Linked DNA regions of Homo sapiens: region 2 is linked to region 1. Evidence: promoter capture Hi-C in 16 types of primary human blood cells and fetal thymus (Javierre and others, 2016). All regions are on one chromosome and are shown on one strand. Each heading gives the region's core, a stretch centred on a gene start or on the middle of the fragment in contact. The rest is flanking DNA. Distances are from core to core; before and after follow the strand shown. Region 1 holds the start of PHLDB3 (pleckstrin homology like domain family B member 3). Region 2 has its middle 3.8 kb from the start of TEX101.

What was found. Contacts are between HindIII fragments. The CHiCAGO score rates a contact against its expected background, and 5 or more counts as called.
Region 2: a contact is called between a fragment that was not itself captured here and the fragment with the promoter of PHLDB3 in region 1, in 2 of 17 cell types (non-activated CD4 T cells and total CD4 T cells). The highest score is 5.6, in non-activated CD4 T cells.

What each region holds. Positions count from the first base shown.
Region 1 is chr19:43,500,566-43,507,648 of GRCh38, forward strand. It overlaps PHLDB3 (pleckstrin homology like domain family B member 3), which reads right to left and starts at 4,181. Exons shown (of 16, transcript NM_198850.4): 1 at 4,024-4,181; 2 at 3,341-3,567; 3 at 1,536-1,718; 4 at 1,169-1,306. The coding sequence starts at 3,553. It overlaps ETHE1 (ETHE1 persulfide dioxygenase), which reads right to left. Exons shown (of 7, transcript NM_014297.5): 7 at 6,154-6,337. The coding sequence ends at 6,285. RefSeq lists an enhancer at 3,317-3,839 and silencers at 3,468-3,717, 4,318-4,377. The HindIII fragment of the contact is 22,316 bases long and covers 1-7,083 here.
Region 2 is chr19:43,407,674-43,414,505 of GRCh38, forward strand. It overlaps a transcript of TEX101 not described here and the pseudogene LOC110467528. Among named protein-coding and RNA genes, the nearest start is that of TEX101, 3.8 kb to the right of the region's middle. RefSeq lists a silencer at 5,418-5,604. The HindIII fragment of the contact is 751 bases long and covers 4,316-5,066 here.

The sequences.
Region 1 (7,083 bases), core at 2,931-5,430:
CTGTTAACTGGCATTTTGAGACTGTCTGGGAAACACAAAAACTAACCAGAAATAAGACAATACTAAGAACTTATTAATTTTTTATTTTTGAGACAGGGTCTTGCTCTATCGCCCAGGTTGGAGTGCAATGTTATAATCACAGCTCACTGCAGCCTCTACCTTCTGGGCTCAATTGATCCTCCCACCTCACTCTTCTGAGTCTGAGGCCACAGGCACATGCCACCATGCCTGGTTAATTTTTGTATTTTTATTTTTCACAGAAACGGTGTCTTATTATAATATTGCCAGGCTGGTCTCATAGTCTTGGCCTCAAGCGATCCTCCCACTTTGCCCCGCCCCCCGTACCCCCCCCCCACCCCGCAAGTACTGGGATTACAGGTGTGAGCCACTTGGCCCAGCCTAAAAGGATTTCTTATCTGTCAATGATACACTCTAAACATATGTACAGACCATATGATGTCTGGGATTGGCTTTTAAAACTGGGGACGAGAACAAATTGGAGATAATGAAACAAGAATGTAAGAATATTAATCATTGATGAAGCTGGTGGGCACAGGACATGGGAGCTGCCTGACTATTGTGGGGTGGGTTTGGAAGTTTTCTTTTTCTCTTTTTTTTTTTTTTTTTTTTTTGAGACGGAGTCTCCTTCTTGTCACGCAGGCTGCTGGAGTGCAATGGTGCGATCTTGGCTCACTGCAACCTCCATCTCCCGGATTCAAGCGATTCTCCTGCCTCAGCCTCCCAAGTAGCTGGGACTACAGGCGCCCGCCACCACGCCCTGCTAATTTTTGTATTTTTAAGCAGAGACGGGGTTTCGCCATGTTGCCCAGGCTGGTCTCAAACTCCTGAGCTCAGGCAATCCGCCCGCCTCGGCCTCCCAAAGTGCTATGATTACAGGCGTGAGCCACTGCTTCCGGCCAGTTTGGAAGTTTTTACACACCCACATTTAAATAGCAAACGGACAGGGGACAAAGGAAGAGCCCCAAAAATCTCGCCCAGGGAGGGAGAAGGAAAACCAGGAGGGGCATCTGCCCCTCACTCTCTCAGGAGCCCAAATGTCTTCCTTTGGGGAATGGGGACAACCCCGGGGCGCAGGTGGCTAGGAGCACACCAACATCCATGGACCAGGAAGGACACTGCTGATGAAGACCCGGTGAGCCAAACAGACCTGTTCCCGCTGCTGGCGGCCGCGCTGCTCCGAGGCCGCCTGCTGCTCCAGCAGCTCCCGCAGCTGCTCCTCCTCCCGGCGAGCGGCCACTCGCTCCCCAGCCAGCTCACCCCGCAGCAAGGCCACCTCCACCTCCATCTGCGGAGAGAATGCCAGGGCTGGGGGCTCGGACGCCTAGGTCCAAGGAAGAGGCCCAGGGCCTGAACTACCGGATTCGAAGGGAGGATGGACTCCAGGGACCTGAATTTGGAGGGAGGAAGAGCGGAGGGCCTAAAATCTGATCCCACCCGAGGAAAAAGCTGGGAGTCCGGCTTTGCGGGTTCCGCTTGAGTTGGGGCCAGGCTTCCCAAGGGGTCCGCAGCCTCACCTCGATCCTCAGCTCCTTCCTCTGGCGCTGTAGCTCCTTCACTCGCTGCTCCATCAGGGCCACACGAGTCAATGCCTCCAGCTGCTGTCCTTGCAGGCGCCGCGCCGCCCCTCGCACCCCTTCCCGCGAAGAGGTGGATGCGGGAGGTGTGGCCGCCATAGCTATCGGAGGCGTAGCCTCGGGCTGAAGTTGAGGGGGGCGTGGTTAAGTGGAGATGCCTCGCCCCCTGCAATCACTAAGTAGGTCTGGTCCCCACCCAACATCACCCTCTGCGGGTCTCAGTCCATCAGTCCACTTACCTAACACAACCACCACTCCCATAATCTGTCGCAGGCTCTTTTCTTTTTCTTTCTTATCTTTTTTTTTTTTTTGTCCTGAGATAGGGTCTCACTGGCTGGAGTGCAGTGGCGCGATTACGGCTCACTGCAGCATCGACCTCCCTCGCTCAAGCGATTCTTCTGCCTCATCCTCCTAGGTAGCTGTGACTACAGGCGCGCACCGCCACGCCAAGCTCTTTTTTTTTTTTTTTTTTTTTGGCAGAGAGGGGGCGATGCTATGTTGCCCAGGCTGGTCTCAAACTCCTAGGCTCAAGGGATTCTCCCACCTCGGCCTCCCAAAGTGCTACGATTACAGGCATAAGCCACCGCGCCCGGCCTCAGACCCCTGTATTTAAGGTCGGAGTGGGGGAGGGTGCAAGTCCCGTGACCACCCAACCACACGGACCACAGAGGCTTGCAGTACCGTATGGAGGGTGAGCAGGTGTAAAGCCGACTTATGAAAGGTGTTTCTTTTTCTCTATCAGGTCCTATTCTCTTGGCGTCACTTTCTTGTAGTGCCTGGATCTGTCTCTGTCTCTCCACCTGACCCCAGTCTCTCAGATTCGGTATCTGTCCACTAGATCTGTCCACTAGAATCACTAGATCTTTCTTCCTCGGAGTATGTCCCTCTCTCGAGGTTTTTGTCTATTTGTTTCTCTGAGCATCTCTGCCATTTATTTCTGGGTTTCCCTCTGTCTCGATTCCCCTCTCTCTGACTCTAGTCTCACTGTGTCTCTGTCTTTTTGGGGTCTTTGTCTCTCAGTCTCCATGTCTCTGGGTCTCTGTCTGGCTTCTTGATCTCTCTGCATCTCTTACTCGTTTGGTTCTCTCTGTTCTGTAGTCTCTCCTGTCTGTCTATCTGGTCTCTCTCTCTCTCTCTCTCTCTCTCTCTCTCTCTCATTTTTAGAGATAGGTTCTGCTTTGTCCCAGGCTGGGGTGCAGTGGCGCAGTCATAGTTCACCGCAGCCTACAACTCCTGGGCTCAAGCGATCCTCCTGCCTCAGCCTCCCGAGTAGCTGGGATTACAGGCACGCGGCACTGCGCTTGGACAATTTTTGTATTTTTTTTTTCTCTAGAGACAGGGATTTGCTATGTTGCCCAGACTTGTCTCGAACTCCTGGGCTTAAGCAATCCTCCCCTCGGCCTCCCCAAGTGCTGGGATTACAGGCGTGAGCCACCTATCTGGTTCCTCTATACTAGTCTCTCTGTCTCTGTCGCCCGTTTGGGTCTATCTCCGTTCTTGGGGCCTCCCCGTGGCTCTATCTGGTTTCTGTCTCTGTATCTGGTTTCTGTCTGTCTGTGCCTCTGCCTCTCTGGCTCCGTGTCCTGGTGTATCTCTCTCTCAGTAGTCTCTGCTATCACTCGGTCTCTCTCCCTGTCTCCGGGTCTCTGTCTTTCTGGTTTCCCTCTACCTGTCTACCTGTCTGGCCACCTGTTTGGGTCCCCGTCGGTCCAAGCCCCCCGCGCTGTCGCCCTCGGGCCCCTCACCGCGTCGCGGCTGCTCTCAGTGCTGCTGCCTTCTCCCACTTCTTCTTCCTCTGCCTGCTGCTCAGCTCCCCCGCGGCTCGAAGGTTCCGCCAGGACTTCGGATGCCTCCTGTTCCCGGGACTCCTCGGGATGGCCCTGGGGCTGGACCTCCACGTCGCATTCCGGGACCAGCGGCGGCGGGGTCCCCTCCTCGGGGCTGCTTCGCGTCCCCATGGCCGCTGGGACTCCTGCGGGGTGGGCGGGACCAGAAGCTCCGGGGGCGGGGCCTAGGACGGCTGAGCGCCGCTCGCGTCTGCTCCGGGGCGCGGAGACCCCCCCCCAAGGAGGCGGGGCCTAAGAGTTCAAAGGATGGAACTGAGCGTTACGGAGGCGTGTCCTGAAGTTTCCAGAGGCGGGGCTTGATGGCTCCAAGGCGACACGCCACCGGAGACGGGACCGGAATTTGAGTCCGGGTCGTAGCACGCCCCCTACTGACCTCTTCGACCCCGCCTCCCCTCCCTCATCTCTAGGTGTCAGGCCTTGTACCCTCCCAGCAGCCCCCTACAATCTCTTGGATTCGCTTAGAGCGACCCATCTTCTCCCTCCGAGACTCAGCAGTTCGGCTCCCGCCCCATCCTTCCCGGAGCCCCGTAGTCTTAGTCCCGACCCCACTGTGCAGGGCAACCGTGCCCACGCCGCCTCACCCAGGGATCCAGGAGTCGGGGCTCTCCTTCTCTGAACAAGCCAGGAGTCGGAGTCCTTGAGATTCCGAAGTCCAACTGCCACCTCCCCACAGCCTCGGCCCCCTCACGAGCTCAGGCTTCGGCGCGCTCCGCTCTGCGCGCTGGGCACGGCCGCTTCTGCCTATGAGACAGGTGGCAGGGGAAGAGGGAGGAGAGAGGCCGCCCGGTCCCCCTCCCCAGCAGCCCGGAAGTGGAGGGGGGACAACAGGTCCAACAGCTCCCGAGGGAGGAGGGAGCCACGGGCTTGCCCCACCCGTGGCCTCGGCATCCGGCCATCCCGGCCCCACCGGCCCCGGCCCGGCCCCACCCTCGTGGAACTCAGCATCGCGACCTCCCAGTCTCCCTCGAGCCCCTCATTCCTGCCCCCCTGGAGGAGTCTTGGCCACCTCTGTATGGGAGCCTCTCTAATGTCCAGACCTTGGGAGTTCAGAAAGGAAGGCAGGAATGGAGATGGGGACGTCTCCCCTCTAATGAGCCCTTCAGAAGGGCCCTGACCGGTTTGGGGAGCTGGACAAGGGGAAGGGGTGCCCTGAACTGAGTCAGACACCTGCCCAGAGACTGAGGGAAGTGTACCGCCACCCCCCCACAACTTTGCTATGGGGTGGAGGGCAGAGGTTAAAGGTCTCAGCCAGACCCTTTCCTCTCTGGGCGAAAACAGGAAAATGAAAACAGGAAAATAACTGGTATATGAAAAGGGATGATTAGAAGTCAAGAGCTGTGTGAAACACTTTATACCCAGTCATTTAATTTCACCCTCAAAGCTGTCCAGCGAGAAAGTGATTACTACCTCCATTTCTTTTTTTTTAGTAGAGACTGGGTTTCTCCAGGTTGCCCAGGCTGATCTTGAACTCCTGGGCTCAAACAACCTGCCTGCCTCAGCCTCCCAAAGTGTTGAGATTACAGGCGTGAGCCACCGCTCCTGGCCTACTATCTCCATTTTACACTTGGGGATACAAGCTGAGGAGGACAAATGCACCCAAGGTTGGCTGGGCACAGAGGCTCAGGCCTGTAATCCCAGCACTTTGGGAAGCCGAGGCAGGTGGATTGCTTGAGATCAGGAGTTCAAGGCCAGCCTGGGCAACATGGAGAAACCCCATCTCTACTAAAAATACAAAAATTATGCCAGGCGTGGTGGCACACACCTGTCATCTCAGCTACTCCAGAGGCTGAGGCAGGAGGATATCTCGAGCCCAGGAGGTCGAGGCTGCAGTGAGTCTTGAATGTGCCACTGCACTCCAGCCTGGGCGACAGAGTAAGACCCCATCTCAGAAAAAAAAAAAAAAATGTAGCCAACATCTACACATGTTGTAAGTGGTAAAATGCAGGCTTCATTCTCTCAAAAGTCCATGTTCTTAACCATTGCGTATACTGTCACTACAAGCCAGGAAGTACCCAAAAGATCATTCTAAATGATAGTAACTTTAATGGTGAACACTGATAGGCCATGTGCCAGGCACTCACACACATTGACTCATCAGAGCATCACAACACCCCATTATTATTCCTTCCATTTTAGAGATAAGAAAACTGAGGCCTAGAGAAGTGAAGTAACTTACCCCAGGGCTAAGTGGGAAGTGGCTCAAAAGCAAGCCGGTGTTCTAATCCAAGGTGATGAGAAGACCTGCCCCAGATAGCTGTGTTTGTTTTTGATCTTGTGAGTTAGAAATCTTGTGGGCTCCCGGGCTGGGCGCGGTGGCTCACACCTGTAATCCCAGCACTTTGGGAGGCCGAGGCTGGTGGATCACGAGGTCAGGAGATCAAGATCATATTGGCTAACATGGTCAAACCCTGTCTCTACTAAAAATATGAAAAAATTAGCCGGGCATGGTGGCACGCGCCTGTAGTCCCAGCTACTTGGGAAGCTGATGCAGGAGAATCGCTTGAACCCGGGAGGCAGAGGTTGCAGTGAGCCGAGATCGTGCCACTGCACTCCAGCCTGGGCAATGGAGGGAGACTCCATCTCAAAAAAAAAAAGAAAAGAAAAAGAAAACAAATCTTGCAGGCTCCCTGGCCTCTCCATAGGACCAGAACCCCACCCCTTTCGGCCCAGAAACCCAATTGGTTCCCCCAGAAAATAGGTAGAAGTCAGACTCACGTTAAAAAAAGTTTTATTTAGGGAGCTCCAGGGAATGCGGTGGGAAAGGAGAGGTGCAGTGTCATTGCCGCCCTCTCCTCCCACCTAGTGCATTAATAGTGGATGGGAGCATCTGACAGAAGTGAGATCAGGCAGTGGGTGTCTGCACCCCACAGCGCATGTTGGCTGGAACAGCAAAGTCTGAAAGGAAGAAATCAAGGTTAAAACTAAGGGGCCTAGGTAGAGTTCCAGGCCCCACTGGAGACCCAGAAATCCTAGGAACCTTTCCTCTTCAGGAAACTAGAGTTTTGGTCCTGAGCCCACTCCTTCCCTCAGACCCAGGAGTCCAGTACCCCAGCCCCTCCTCCCTCAGACCCAGGAGTCCAGACCCCCAGCCCCTCTTCCCTCAGACCCAGGAGCCCAGACCCCCAGCCCCTCCTCCCTCAGACCCAGGAGTCCAGTCCCCCAGCCCTTCCTTCCTCAGACCCAGGAGTCCAGTCCCCCAGCCCCTCCTCCCTCAGACCCAGGAGTCCAGTCCCCCAGCCCCTCCTCCCTCAGACTCAGGAGTTCAGACCCCCAGCCCCTCCTCCCTCAGACCCAGGAGTCCAGGCCCCCAGCCCCTCCTCCCTCAGACCCAGGAGCCCAGGTCCCCAGTCCCTCCTCCCTCAGACCCAGGAGTCCAGGCCCCCAGCTCCTCCTCCCCCAGTCCCTCCTCCCTCAGACCCAGGAGCCCAGGTCCCCAGTCCCTCCTCCCTCAGATCCAGGAGTCCAGGCCCCCAGTTCCTCCTCCCTCAGACCCAGGAGTCCAGGCCCCCAGTTCTTCCTCCCTCAGACCCAGGAGCCCAGGCCCCCAGCCCAGCCCCTCCTCCTTCAGACCCAGGAGTCCAGGCCCCCAGCTCCTCCTCCCTCAGACCCAGGACCCCAGGCCCCCAGCCCCTCCTCCCTCA
Region 2 (6,832 bases), core at 3,441-5,940, 92 kb before region 1:
CTGCCATCCGTGGGATGCTGACTAAAGGCCTCCAAGTCAGAATATGCCCAGGCAGAACTATAGGGCAGCGCCATGAAGCCTCGGCTGGCCTGGGATAGCCGGTCGTCGCCAACAGGACGCAGTGCAGCAGGGTTGAGGCCCCATGCGGAGAGCTCATTGTCTTGGGAAACCGGCAGTGGGAAGGGTGGCCGGCCCCTCGCCCTTCACGCAAGGCCCATTCGTGGGGAACCTGGCGCTAAACCATCCCTAGAGGAGCTGCTTCTGGGTCCGAGTTTTCTCTGCAGCAGAGTGGCTCCCTGGATGGGATCTGTTGAAAGTTAGCCCTCCACACAGGCGTGTGTCCGCTTCGCAGCGTGTGTGCAGAGCCATCAATCCTTCCTTCCTCAATCCCGGGGGTCTCCCGCGTCCCCATACCCCCACCCCGGCCTCTGGTATGGGAACCAGTGACGTCTCTCCCGTGAGCCTGCCCGAGCCCGCAATGCCCTCAGGAGGCGCCCGCCCCGCCCTCTGGGCTTTCCGAGGGCTGCAAGGAACATGCGCTTCCGGGGGTGGAGAGGCGGTGAGGGCCGCCCCCGCAGCGTCCTGTTTGGGAGCCAGGTCTTCTCCTCGTTCTGCCCGGGCTCGACCAGGGGCTAGATCGGGGTTCGGGGAGCGAACAAGGCACGTCGGAGGGTGGCCCGGTGGCCCCTATTCGAGGGGTGGCTGTGGGCCAGGAGGTAGCGGTGGCGGCGGCCTCGCCTGTGGCCATCTGAGCCGTGGGCCGGTAGGCGGGGAGGAGAAGAGGGTCCGGCCGGTCACCGCCCTTGCACGCCTCCTCCTCTTAAAAATAAATAAATAAATAAATGGCGAGTTGGGGGTGGACAGGGATGTTTTAGTGCTGTGCGTGCGTTCTGGAGCCACACCACCCTCTAGAACCAGGGCCACAACCACCCGTGACGCCCACCGTGAGAAGTGCCCTCTCCCAGAAGGGCCTGCACCAGAGACCTTGGTCTTTGTTCTTTTTGGAGAGATCTGTGCAGATCGAGGTCACTCCAGCCCTGGATTCAGGGAGGGCTGCACTATCAGAGAAAGACAGCTTCAGCGAGGCCTCACAGTGAGTCAGACCAGACTCTTCCCATCCCCAAGATCCCTGGACTATGGGGCATCATCCTGGGATCCCTAAGGTCACATGGGAAACTTCTCAAGCACCGATGCTGCCATCTGATACTGTGGCCTGATCCCACCCCTGGACACCTGGAAATTCTCATGAACCCGTGGAGGCCTGGTGCTACCTGAAACTGTGACCTCATTCTACTTCCAACTCACAAGTTGAAGCGTAGATTTACATGCAGTCAAATCAATAATTAGATTAATTGGCTGACTAAAGGAAAAACTTCAGACACGTTAAATTTAACACAGTTTAATTGAGTAATGAATGATGCATTAATCAGGTAGCCCCCAGACCCAGAGTAGGTTCAGAGAAACTTCAGGGTGTTCCGTCCATAAATGGTTGGATAACATCTACCGCAGAAGAAAGTGATGTAGAAGAAACTAAGGAAGGCACTGAAATAGCTGGACTGCTAACAGTTGGGTGCTTGCCTTATTTGAACCAGGTTTGAACAGTTAGTTGGGTACCTGTGATTGGCTGAGACTCAGCTATTTTTACTATAGCAGGTTACAGACTGTTTACACATCAAGTTAGGTTACAGTTCACTATGTATGGAGAAACCATTAGACCAAACTTAAAGTAGTAGGGAGGCAGCTTTAGACCTAACAATGTTAACAGGCCAAACATTTCAATTAAGGGGTACAGATTGGTCAAATTGCATAAAAAAGCAATACCCATATATACTGTCTACAAGGGAAATATTTTACATATAGGGAAAAGCATTATTGAAAGTGTGAGTATTGAAAAAGATATACCATGCAAACAGTAAGCACAAGAAAGTTGAAGTACTAGTAAAAAAAAAAAAAGAAAGAAAGAAAATAGAATTCAAAACAGAAGGTAAAAGAGACTGAAGCAGGAGAATTGCTTGAACCTGGGAGGCGAAGGTTGCAGTGAGCCAAGATTGCACCATTGCACTCCAGCTCTGGGTGACAGAGCAAGACTCCATCTCTGTGGAAAAAAAAGAAAAGGAGAAACAAATGTGAGTGTAAGCAAGGCGAGTGTTTCCTCTATGATTAGTAATTAGCAGTCTTCAAAAAGACATTCTGTGGCTTGGGGTTTAATAGTAAAATAATTAGCTGGCATGGTGACATGTTCCTGTACTCCCACCCAAGAGGCTGAAGTGGGAGGATTGTTTGAGCCCAGGAGTTTGAGGCTGCAGTGAGCTGTGATTGCACCACTGTACTCCAGCCTGGACAAGATTGAGAGAGATCCTGTCTCAAAAAAAAAATAAGTAAAACTGGTGGTTTAACCTCAAGGCTTACAACTCATTGTTTTGTAAGGTTTGCAGAAGATCTCAATCCTTTACAAGTAGGAAGGAAAAGCCTGTTGGTTTGAGAGGGAACTGGGTGTGTGCATAGGCCTGTTGGTAGGAGAACTGGAGCACTCAAAAAGGGAGCTGCACGATGCTTATGCCGGCTTCACTGAGGGCTGTGGGCATTGGAGGAATGGGCTTTGAAGGACAATTAGGAGTTTGTGGGGTAAACAAATGCATGGGGGAAGCGGATTAGGGAGAGGTCTCCCATGCAGAGGGACCAGTGTGAGCAAAGCCAAAGAGGCTGGAAGAGACTAGGGATGTCCTGGGAATAGATATTAGACAGGGAATGATAAGGGTGAGGCATGGGGGCTGGTCTCCAAGACCAGTGTGGGAGGTTGGAATTTTCCCCCAGGAATACAGGAAGCATGGAAAAAATTCTGAGGATGGAATACGGAGGGCCTGAGGTATGTGGTGGCTCACTGTTGTGTGTTTCTCATTTCTGGATCTAAGAGACATTCTTTAATCCAGCAAATGTTTACTTACCTACACTGTAATCATATGCTGAGTACACAGAGATGGATCAGACACAGCTGGAAGGAACCAGATACACACATGCCCATGCACACATGCACACTGACATGTACACCGAGACACACACATCAGACACACATTCACACACAGCACACAGATACACACAGACATACATATATACAGACATGTGCACACACAAACATGCATGCACTCACAGTCACACATGAACACACATAGCCAATTATACTATAAAGTACAAAAAAAAAATTTTTTTTTGAGACAGGGTCTTGCTCTGTCACCAGAGCAAAAGCTGGAGTACAGTGGCGTTATCTCGGCTCACTGCAACTGCAACCTCCACCTCCTGGGCTCCAGCGATCCTCCCACCTCAGCCTCCCAAAGTGTTGGGATTACAGGCATGAGCCATGGCACCCAGCCTAGAATCTTACTTGAGGTAAAATGAGAATCCACTGGAAGGTTTTGGTTTTTTTGAAACAGAGTCTTGCTCTGTCACCCAGGCTGCAGTGCAGTAGCACAATCTTGACTCACTGCAGCCTCCACCTCCCAGGTTCAAATGATTCTCTCGCTGCAGCATCCAGAGTAGCTGGGATTACAGGGGCGCACCACCACGCCCAGCTAATTTTTTCATTTTTAGTGGAGACAGGGTTTCACCATGTTGGCCAGGCTGGTCTCGAACTCCTGATCTCAGGTGATCCACCACCTCGGCCTCCCAAAGTGCTGGGATTACAGGCCTGAGCCACCGTGCCTGGCCCATTAGAAAGTTTTAAACAGGAGTAATGTGGTGTGGCTTGCAATTAAGAGATCGCTCTGGTGCCAGGTGGGAAATAGCCACATGGGCAAGGGCAGGGCGTACTGCAATAATCCAGTGACCAATGGTGGTGTCACAAGTGCTTATATAAAAAGATGCCTTCACTGTATATTAGCCATTGAGCTTTTTTCTTTTTTACAAACGTTCCATGGATTCATAAACTATTTGCCAACCATTGCTCTAGACTAACCTCCTCATTTTCTTTTTTTTCTTTTTTTTCTTTTTTTTTGAGACCAAGACCAAGTTTTGCTCTTGTTGCCCAGGCTGGAGTGCAATGGTGCAGTCTCAGCTCACTGCAACCTCCGCCTCCCAGGTTCAAGTGATTCTCCTGCCTCAGCCTCCCAAGTAGCTGGGATTACAGGCGCGTGCCACCAGGCCTGGCTAATTTTTGTATTTTTAGCAGAGACAGGGTTTCACCGTGTTGGTGAAGGTCAGGCTGGTCTCAAACTCCTGACCTCAGGTGAACCACCCACCTTGGCCTCCCAAAGTGCTGGGATTATGGGCTTGAGCCACTGCACCCAGCCTAACCTCTTCATTTTCTAGATGAGGACACTGAAGCTTGGAGAGGAACAGAAATTGGCTCAGGCTAAGGAAGATCTGTCAATCTCTCTTGCACCAAAAAGGCAAAGCCACCTTTCTCAAGGGGCTGTGTATTGGGGTGTTCTTGCACTGCTATAAAGAAATACCTGAGACTAGAAGTAATTTATAAGAAAAGAGGTTTGATTGGCTCAAGGTTCTGCAGCTGTACAGGAAGCGTGGTGCCAGCATCTCCTTCTGGGGAGGCCTCAGAGAGCTTTTACTTATGGCAAAAGGATGCAGGCCAGAGAAGGGGAGCGAGAGAGAGTAAGAAGGGGAGGTGCCACACACTTAAACAACCAGATCTGGCAAGGACTCACTCATCATTGCAAGGACAGCACCAAGTCATGAAGGATCTGCCCCCATAACCCAAACACCTTCCACCAGGTCGCATCTCCAACACTGGGAATTACATTTCAACATGAGATTTGGGCGGGGGACAAATATCCAAACTATGTCACGGAGCAAGAGGAGGTCCCTGGAGCTGTTGAAGCAGAAATGGGGTGAAGAATAGAGGTGGAGGGTGCTTAGGCTTCCAAGGTCTCTTCTAGGTGTGAGATGGAGGGATTCTGCGACCAAGTCACCTGGAGAGTGACTCAACAAGGTGACTGCTTTCCCAAGCACGAGCCCTCGGGGGACAGACGGGGGCTGAAAACTGGCACACATTCTTCCTGGATCCTTTGACATGTGATCATTCAAAGATAACAGTTCAAAGATAACAAAGGGATTGAAGCTTTACCAATCCCTTTCTTATTGTGGCATTTTCTCTATTAAAAATAAATACTCATTTATACTATAACTTACAGAATCAGTACCAATTCTGAAAGTATACAAAGCGTTGCCTTACTTTAAGGAAGGAGACCACTACTACTCCTGCTGCCCTCCTCCCCCGACCTTGCCTAGTTCACAAGACAGGAGGAAAGAGAGAAAGCAAAAAGTTGGAAAGAAACAGAAGTAAGATAAATAGCCAGTCAACCTTGGCACCACCACCCAGCCCTAGGAGTTAAAAAAAGTAATAATAATAACAGCAACCCCTGACCTAAACTACTTGTGTTATCTGTAAGTTCCAGACATTATATGAAAAAGCATTGCAAAACTTTCTGTTCTGTTACCTGATGCATGTAGCCCCCAGTCACGTTTCCCACGCTTGCTCGATTTATCACGACCCTTTCATGTGGACCCCTCGAAGTTGTAAGCCTTTAAAAAGGCCAAGAATTGGCCAGGCGTGGTGGCTCATGCCTGTAATCCCAGCACTTTGGGGGGCGGGCGGATCACGAGGTCAGGAGATCGAGACCATCCTGGCTAACACAGTGAAACCCCATCTCTACTAAAAATACAAAAAAATTAGCCGGGTGTGGTGGTGGGTGACTGTAGTCCCAGCTACTCGGGAGGCGGAGGCAGGAGAATGGCATGAAGTCGGGAGGCAGAGCTTGCAGTGAGCCGAGATTGCACCACTGCACTCCAGCCTGGGCAACAGAGGGAGACTCCAAAAAAAAAAAAAAAGGCCAAGAATTTATTTTTCAGGGAGCTCGGCTCTTAAGACGCAAGTCTGCTGAGGCTCCCGGCCAAATAAACCTCTTCCTTCTTTAATCCAGTATCTGAGGAGTTTTGTCTGCAGCTCATCCTGCTACAACTTCATGTCACACCTGGAAAGCTTACATAGGCCAGGGGTGGTGGCTCACGTCTGTAATCCCAGTACTCTGGGAGGCCGAGGTGGGCAGATCACCTGAGGTTAGGAGTTCAAGACCAGCCTGGTCAACACGGCGAAACCCCGTCTCTACTAAAAATACAAAAATTAGCCAGGTGTGGTGGCAGGTGCCTGTAATCCTAGCTGCTCAGGGGAGACTGAGGCATGAGAATCGCTTGAACCTGGGAGAGGGAGGTTGCAGTGAGCTGAGATCACGTCACTGCACTCCAGCCTGGGGGATAGAGAGAGGCTCTGTCTCCAAAAAAAAAATACAAAAAATTAGCCAGGCATGGTAGCTTATGCCTGTAATCCCAGCTACCTGGGAGGCTGTGGTAGGAGAATCACTTGAACCCAGGAGGAGGAGGTTGCAGGGAGCCAAGATTGTGCCATTGCACTCCAGCCTGGGCAAAAAGAGCAAAAGTCTGTCAAAAAGGGAAGGGAAGGGGAGGGGAAGGGAGGGGAGGGGAGGGAAGGGAAGGTTACATAGATGTGAAAGTGAACTGCCAGCCATGAGCAACAAATCCGAGTGACATGTCTTCTTCATGGTCCTGACACGGACGCGTGGGTTCGATCTGACAGCAGCCTGTGCCATCATAGCTACTGCTCATGCATGCATTCGGGGTGCCCAAAGTGATGCTGAGGGGGGCATTCCTAGATTCAACCCTCCAGGAGACCATGAGGAGGCTGGTGCGATAGCGCAATCAGATGAAGACGCCTGGGCTGCACAGGGGCCACTGCAAGTGAAGACTCAAGAGGCCAAGCTGACTCCCAGAGGCTAGGGCCACTAAGGTGGGTGCCGAGGCAGGGGCC